Linked DNA regions of Homo sapiens: all the other regions are linked to region 2. The links are contacts of gene promoters, found by promoter capture Hi-C in blood cells and fetal thymus (Javierre and others, 2016). All regions are on one chromosome and are shown on one strand. Each heading gives the region's core, a stretch centred on a gene start or on the middle of the fragment in contact. The rest is flanking DNA. Distances are from core to core; before and after follow the strand shown.

Region 1 (2,700 bases), core at 96-2,595, 240 kb before region 2:
GATCCACCCGCCTTGGCCTCCCAAAATGCTGGGATTACAGGCATGAGCCACTGCGCCCAGACAGCATATGTTTTAAGAAAAAACATTTACTGGAACATCATGTGGACTTAGAGCTTCTTTTCGCCCAAATTGGAGGCTTGTATATAGTATTGACAAAACTGAATATTGTGCCTGTCTGTCCCCTAATTTTGTTACTAGAGGAAGCTTAACTAAAAACAAAGGTGAAACTGCTGTTTCTTTAGACACTGCCATCAAATACATGAAGGAAATTTCTTAAGGGAAAGGAACACATGCTGTGTCCATGGCAGCAGCTAACAGTTGGTTTGCAGGAATCCTGAGTGGTGGATGGCAAGCTTGGCTTTTCCAGGGTTTTCTAATCTATGTTCTTCTAGTGGGTCTCCAGGTTACTAAGGCTTGTGTTATCAAGTTAATGACAAAATTGGATACTTATTTAAATCAGATCATTCTATAGCAAGCTGTGGTCCTTAATTTCCATCACACTTTGAATAAGGATTATGGCCAAATGGACTCAAATACTGTTAAGCTGCCTATATTACTTACCTAAGCTTTGACTTGTTTGATTTGGATCAATTTGGTCCCTCAGGGCTCCTGTTAAGGAATACGCTTCATTTTTTGGTGTTATCCTAAATACCAAATCCTATCTAACAGTCATCATGATAGTCCCCTGCTGTGCTGTATCCTCTCAAGTCTTAAATGTTAGTATGCAGCCATCCATTGAGCACTGAATGATCTCACTTTGACTAAATCAGCAAGAACATAATTATTCGACTGATGTGATAACTTGTGAATTCCATATTGAGACCAAGTAAGTCCATTTATGATGGTGACAGACAGTGGCATGAATCAGACATGTTTTTAGAAAGTTTTATTAATTTTATTTAAAATTTTATTTTCAGGAATGGGATTGACTGCAAAGGAGCACAAGGGAACTTCCTGGGGTGATGGAAATGTTTTGTCTTGATTGTGGTAATGATTACATGACTATGTTTGTCAAAATTCCAGAACTTTATACCTAAAAGGGTGAATTTTACTGCATGTAAATTATACCTAAACACATGACTTTTTAAAAAGGCCTGAAATCTTAACTACTCAGCTAAAAATAAAATAAAATAAAATAAACAATTTAGGTGCAAAACAAGTTTTGTTTTTGGGACTGACAGAGGTCCAGTGATTGTATTTATTTATAAAGCTAATAATCCAATCCAATATATCAATATCAATACTTTTAAATAGGATATAAAAAGTTATGAGATTTTTTAAAATAAGGATTTAGACTGCAAAATATTATGACTACAATGTTCCTGAAGCAACACTATCTTAAAAAATATCTCAAACAGAAAATAACACTCTAATGCTCTCAATCATTGCAATAATTGAAACTTCCAGAATATTACCATAATGCTGCTTATATTACATACCCAAAGCCCTGTATTTAATAGTTAAAAACAAAGAATTATTTAATACCAGCTAGCTTCATTACTTGATAGATTAACTTGCTTGACAGATCAACATTACTTGATAGATTACTGGATAGATCAACTAGCTTCCTAAAACATAACTGTAGCTCAGCTTCTAAAAAAGGTGAAAGAAATTATTATATTCAACTGAACTAGATTTTAAAAATAAAGACTATCAAGAACATAGGAAGAGGTAATTAAATGACGGGTCCTCTCTACTAAGGTTTCAATAGAAGCAAATACATCCGAGAAACCATTTACAAAGAACTCACCCTCATAATTGCCTTAGAGACCAAAGTCACAATTTTAAGGCCAAGATCTTTAGAAATCAGATAGGTCAGTGTGACGGTTAATTCTGTGTCAAACTTGACTGGATTATGGGGTGCCCAGATATTTTGGTCAAACATTATTCTGGGGTTATCTTTGTAAGGGTGTTTTGGATGAGACTAACATTTAAATTGACAGACGAAAGCAGAGTGCCTTCTATAATGTAGGTGGGCTTTATCCAATCATTTAAAGGCCTGAATAGAATGAAAAGTTTGACCCTCCCCAAAGTGAGTGAATTCTTCCTACTTTTGAACTGTGACATGGGCTTTTTCCTGCCTTTGGACTTGGACTAGAACTACACCATCAGCTCTCCTAGGTCTCAAGCTTGCTTACTCACCTTGCAGATCTTGGGACTTGCCAGCCTCCATCACTGCATAAGTCAATTCCTTATAATAAATCATATATGTGCACACACAGGCATGCCTCAGAGATATTGCAGGTTTGGTTCAAGACCACTGCAGTAAAGTAAATATCACAGTAAAGGGATCCACACAAATTTGTTGGTTTCTCAGTGCATATATGTTATGTTTACACTACACTGTAGTCTTAAGTGTGCAACAGCATTATGACTTTAAAAAAAGTACACACCTTCATTTAAACATATTTTCTTGCTAAAAAAATGCTGACAGACATAAAGTGAGCACATGCTGTTGGAAAAAACGGTACCAACGGTACCAATTTGTAAATAACACATTATCTGCAAAGTGCAATAAAGTGAGACACAATAAAATGAGGTATGCCTGTATATCCTATTGGTACTGTTTCTCTGGAGAATCCTAATACAACCTGCTTTCAAATCAATTTAAGACCCTCCCCCCATAAGCATTACATTGAGGAAAATGTGGTTGCAACTTTGTCCTACAAATTAGGACAAAGAGACCTTTGTTGCCATATA
Region 2 (2,700 bases), core at 35-2,534:
GGGAACACAAGAAATAAAGGGATTGTGTGCTTCCTTATAACAGGCACCAATCTACTTATATTAGCGGAAAAAATTTAAAAGCTCATAATACCGCACATTTGTGAGTTATGAATGACCACAGTGCAAACAGTAAAAATAAAGGTTAATAGGCCGGGCGAGGTGGCTCACGCCTGTAATACCAGCACTTTGGGAGCCCAAGGCGGGCGGATCACGAGGTCAGGAGATCGAGACCATGCTGGCTAACACGGTGAAACCCTGTCTCTACTAAAAACACAAAAAAATTAGCCGGGCGTGGTGGCAGGCGCCTGGAGTCCCAGCTACTCAGGAGGCTGAGGCAGGAGAATGGCGTGAACCCAGGAGGCGGAGCTTGCAGTGAGCCGAGATCGCGCCACTGCACTCCAGCCTGGGCGACAGAGCGAGACTCTGTCTCAAAAAAAAAAAATAAAATAAAATAAATAAATAAATAAAACATGCAAAAGGAAAGATCAAATGCTGCTTGGGTGAATGGCTGACTTCCAGAATTACCCTTTCCAGGAGAATTCCTCATTGTCTGCGGCTGCATTGTCCAACAGGTGAGCCACTAGCCACTTTGTAGTTACTGAGCGCTTAAATGTAACTAGTTCGAAGATGTGCCGTAAATGCAGCACACCAGATTTGAAAAGCTTAGTACGAACAAAAGAATGTAAAATATCTCATTCATTTGATATTATTACATGTTAAAATACCTTGGATTTATTGGGTTAAACAAAATGTCTTATTTCCATTAACTTCACCTATTTCTTACTTTTAGTTTAAAACTACATAAAGATTAGCTTGCCTTGTATTTTCACTGGACAGCGCTGGTCTAAGTAATTAATAAGACCCAGCTGACATTAGCATCTATTTCTTTCTCCTCTAGCGTTTCTCGAACTGGTTCTACAGTAGCCTGGGGCACCGTTAATTCTGCCAAGGCCTGGCGTGGGATCTTTCTGAATCCTAAGATCCTGGGTGTTGGGTAAGAGGATGATGAGTAAAGAACTGGCTAACTGGTCCCGTACCCACTGCGCATCTCGCAGAGCGGGCTCCCGAATCTCCTCCGGCAGAGCGTCCCCGAGCTTTTGCACGAAGCGGCCGCACAGTTGTAGCATTTCGGTCACAGCCCGCTTCGAGGTGCAGCGCACCCGAAAGTCTTCTCGGGGAGTGGCGGAGACCAAGGCCTGGCTCTCTGTGCCAGCCGCGAGCTCCTTGTCCCATGGAGGGTCAAGGACCACCAACTCAGGAGACCCCGCCATTTTTCGTCGGAACTGTGGGCGGGGCACTCTGGGAGCGGAAAAGCGGGTTCACACTGGTGTAACCAGCATGCATCCGGCTGGAAACTCAGGACGCTGCAGCTGAAACGTTCCGGCTCCGGCTCTGCTGGCCGGTCTAAAGCGGCAGCCGCCGGGGCGCAATGCGAGCGGCTGGCGTAGGCTTGGTGGACTGTCACTGCCACCTCTCCGCCCCGGACTTTGACCGCGTATGTGAGGGCGATACGGGACCAGAGGGAGCAGGGAGGCCCCCGTCCTTTCCCCTCGTGTTATCTTTGCTCTCCTCCCTTGGGACGAAACCCCATATCCCCCGCCCAGACCCTTGTTTATGGCCATATGACCTTGCCCCTCATTTCCCTATTCCCTATTTAACCTCAGACATACCGATTTTTTTTTCCTGATTCAGTAGCGGTAAGCTATCTCCACAAGGCTTTTGTTTGCTCTTCTGAGTTCCTGGAATCGTTCCCTCACTCCCCTTGGCTGGCCTGTTTTTCCCCTCGGGGCTCTCACCTCCTGGCTGAGATGCCACTCTTTGTGGGAAGCGGTCCTCGAAACGCGTTCAAATCGGGGAGAGGTCGGGCGCGGGCTCACGCCCGTAATCCCAGCACTTTGGGAGGCCGAGGCGGGCGCTGCGCATCTCCTGTGTCCAGGAGATCGTGACCAGCCTGGGCAACATGGTGAAACCTCGTCCCTACAAAAAAAAAAAAAAAGCCGGTGATTGTGGCGTTTGCCTGTGGTCCCAGCTACTCGGGAGGCTGAGGTGGGAGAATCGCTGGAGCCCAGGAGGTGGAGGTTGCAGTGAGCTGACATCAAGCCACTGCACTCCAGCCTGGGTAACAGTGAGACCCTGTCTCAAAAAAAAAAAAAAAAAAAAATTCACAAATGGGGGAGAGAGGCAAACAAACAAACAAAAATACATGGCCGAGTGTGGTTGCTCACACTTGTAATCCTAGCACTATGAGAGGCCGAAGTGGGTGGATCGCTTGAGCCCAGGAGTTTGAGACCAGCCTGGGCAATGTGGTGAGACCCCGTCTCAATTAAAATAATAATACACACGTAAAATCAGTTACAAACTGTTTTACCCATTACGTGGGAAACTAGAGACTAATAATAGAGGATTAAGGGGGGTTTTATTTCAGGGGGAAATCCTCCCAGGAGCTGACACTTAAGGCTGAAAAGACAAGGAGCCACCCAAGCAAGGGGGTGAGTGTATGCTGGTTAGGGAAACAGATAGGTTGCAGGCCCCCAGACAAGCTAGAATTTGGCACATTTCAGTTGCCAAAAAGCTAAGTGGAGCCTGATGAGCTAGAAAGAGAAAGGCATGAAACAAAACTGGGGAGGTTTGCAGGGGATAGATGAGGTGGGTCAGTAAGGAATTTGGATTGCATTTGAAGCACAATGCAGATTCATTAAA
Region 3 (2,700 bases), core at 182-2,681, 220 kb before region 2:
ATTTTTACACTTGTTCTTTTGCAAGTTCCATACTCTTATCGATACTTGCTTTTAAAAATGATTTAAGAGCTGGCAAGGCCCCAGTCTCATCATTCCTTTTCATGTTCAACATTTTCTTTGTTGCCGGGCGTGGTGGTTCACGTCTGTAATCTCAGCACTTTGGGAAGCAGAGGCGGGCGGATCCCCTGAGGTAGGGGGTTCGAGACCAGCCTGACCAAGATGGAGAAACCCCCATCTCTACTAAAAATATAAAATTAGCTGGGCATAGTGGCGCATGCCTGTAATCCCAGCTACTCAGGAGGCTGAGGCAGAGAAGGATGGCTTGAACCCGGGAGGCGGAGGTTGCAGTGAGCTGAGATTGCACCATTGAGCTACAGCCTGAGCAACAAGAGTGAAATTCAGTCTCAAAAACCAAACAAAACAAAAAACATTTTATTTGCTGTTCATACTTAATTATTATTTTGGTTGAACATTAGAATGATTTTGTGAAATTCTGAAAAGAATACTATTGAGATTTTTATTGAAATTATATTGACCATTCAAATTAATTTGCAAAGCACTGACTTCGTTGCCATAAAGCTTAGTATTCAAACCTGCATTTCCCAATAGCATTTTATAATTTTTTCATACGGGTCCTTCGCATTCTCATTATAGCTTTTCCAAGGCATTCCATAGAAGTTTCCAATGTCATCATTGTTGATATTTGCTGTTGTCATTTTATCTTTTCTAAAAGTTGTATTTTCTAATTGGATAATAGTTCTATATAGAAAAGCAATGTAGCAAATTTCTACATACAAATTTTTATACAGACAATTTGTATATACAAAAGGTACTTGGCTTTTGTGTCTTTTTTATATTTAGCAGTTTTCTTGGGCTCTCATATCGATTCTAATAATTCTTAGTTGAATTGTTCTTTTGAATTTCCGGGAATGTAATTATATCATGTACAAGTAATTGCAAATCTATTTTCTCCCTTCCAGTGTTTGTGCATCTTATTTTTATAAGTGCCCTATTTCATTGGTTAGAACTTTCAGGTCAAAATTTAGTAAAAATGGCCACAAACTATATCTTTGTTTTGGTCCTGATTTTAATAATATTGCCTTAGTATTTCATCCTTAAAGATGACTTTGACTGTTTGAAATAAACACTTTTTGTTATGTTAATAAAAGTTCTTAAATTTGTAATTATTTTTTAATAGGGACCAGCTGTTGAATTCTAATGTATTTCCTGCATTAATTGAGAATCTTATTTGGATTTTCTTTTTTAGCCTGTGGATGTAATATATTATACTATTGGATTTTAAAGATCTTAAAACATAAAATCTTTTTATTTTAGATTAAACCCTCCTTGGGTTATTTTGATACTGTTATCTGAATTTGGATTTTCTTTTCTATGTTCATAATTTAGATAGGTTTATTATCTTCTTTTTTTGAGCTGTCTTTTTCAGGGTTTTATATCAGGGTCATCTCTGTTAAGTAAATTAGATAGATTTTCCATATTTGTCAATGTTTGAAATTACTGAAACATAGTGATTACGTATTCCTTAAGAATTGAAAGATTTTTTTCCTGTAAAGTTTTCTAGGCCTAGACACATTTTTTTTCCTGGAGGGAAATCTTTCCTTTTTTTCTAAGTTCTTCAGCCGTGATTGGCATATGTAGGTTTTATACTTCTAATTTTGATAATGTATATATTTTCAGACTATTCATTTCATCTAGGTTTTCAGATTTATAATTTATAATTTTGCAAAGTATTGTCTTATATTTAAAATATCTCCTCCTTATCTGGTGCTGAACCTCCCCTTTTTATTTCTAATTTTATTATTCATAGGGTTTTTTTTTCTTCTTTAGTTTCTCTAATATTTGTCTACTTTATTACTTTTTAAAAAAAGTGCTCTTGAATTAATTCCGTAAGTTTTCCTATATCCTAATTCAGTTAGTTTTGGTTTTGCCTTTAGTCTTTTCTGTCTACTGATTTCTTAGGGATTTTGTTGTCATTGTTGTTTTTATAAACCCTTGGGTTGAATGCTTTTATTTTTCCTTTCCTTGAAAATAAAAACAAATAAGATTGTAACTTCAACTTTTAGTACAACTTTCATATTTTCATATTTTCTTAGTACAATATTTCATACCTTTTGATATATTGTGCTCTTATTTTAATTATCTTCTAACTGCTATGTTCTTATACTTTAATTTCTGTTTTAATTTTCTGTCCTTATATTTAATGATTTTTTGTTTTAATTTCTATTATTAATAGCTAGTTATACTGCACTGTGATCAAATAATCAAGCTTATATAATTTTTGTTTCTTAAAATATCTCTCATTTTGGTATATTCATCACAAATGCTTTCTCCTGTTCTATAATATCTTTTCATTTTGTTTGTGTTGTCTTTTTTAACACATAGTTTTTTTCTCTTAATGTAATCAAATATATCCCTCTTATTTTATTGTTTGTATGTTTGTATCTTATATAAAATATTTCTGCACTTGATGATAATGAGTGTATCTTCCTATATATTGTTTTTTCTCAAGGTTGCAAAGTTTTGCCTTTCACATCTGTGTCTTTAATCTTTATGGCTGATGTGAGTGAGAATCTAATTTAACTTACTCCCATATGGATAACCAGTTGTCCCAGTCTCATGAGTTCCTCCCATTGCTTTGTGAGGCTATTTCAGTCATGTACAGAGCTTCCTTGTGTATAT

The links. Contacts are between HindIII fragments. The CHiCAGO score rates a contact against its expected background, and 5 or more counts as called.
Region 1: a contact is called between a fragment that was not itself captured here and the fragment with the promoter of NSL1 in region 2, in 1 of 17 cell types (fetal thymus). The highest score is 6.7, in fetal thymus.
Region 3: a fragment that was not itself captured here is called in contact with the fragment with the promoter of NSL1 in region 2 in 2 of 17 cell types (activated CD4 T cells and fetal thymus); the score reaches 5.5 in activated CD4 T cells.

The regions. Positions count from the first base shown.
Region 1 is chr1:212,554,926-212,557,625 of GRCh38, forward strand. It overlaps LINC01740 (long intergenic non-protein coding RNA 1740), which reads left to right. Exons shown (of 3, transcript NR_125985.1): 3 at 918-1,141. Among named protein-coding and RNA genes, the nearest start is that of LINC01740, 11 kb to the left of the region's middle. The HindIII fragment of the contact is 1,563 bases long and covers 565-2,127 here.
Region 2 is chr1:212,790,493-212,793,192 of GRCh38, forward strand. It overlaps NSL1 (NSL1 component of MIS12 kinetochore complex), which reads right to left and starts at 1,285. Exons shown (of 6, transcript NM_015471.4): 1 at 1,038-1,285. The coding sequence starts at 1,271. TATDN3 (TatD DNase domain containing 3) reads left to right here and starts at 1,402. Exons shown (of 10, transcript NM_001042552.3): 1 at 1,402-1,495. The coding sequence starts at 1,430. RefSeq lists enhancers at 1-736, 1,211-1,490. The HindIII fragment of the contact is 10,286 bases long and covers 661-2,700 here.
Region 3 is chr1:212,572,114-212,574,813 of GRCh38, forward strand. It overlaps a transcript of ATF3 not described here. Among named protein-coding and RNA genes, the nearest start is that of LINC01740, 28 kb to the left of the region's middle. The HindIII fragment of the contact is 1,708 bases long and covers 578-2,285 here.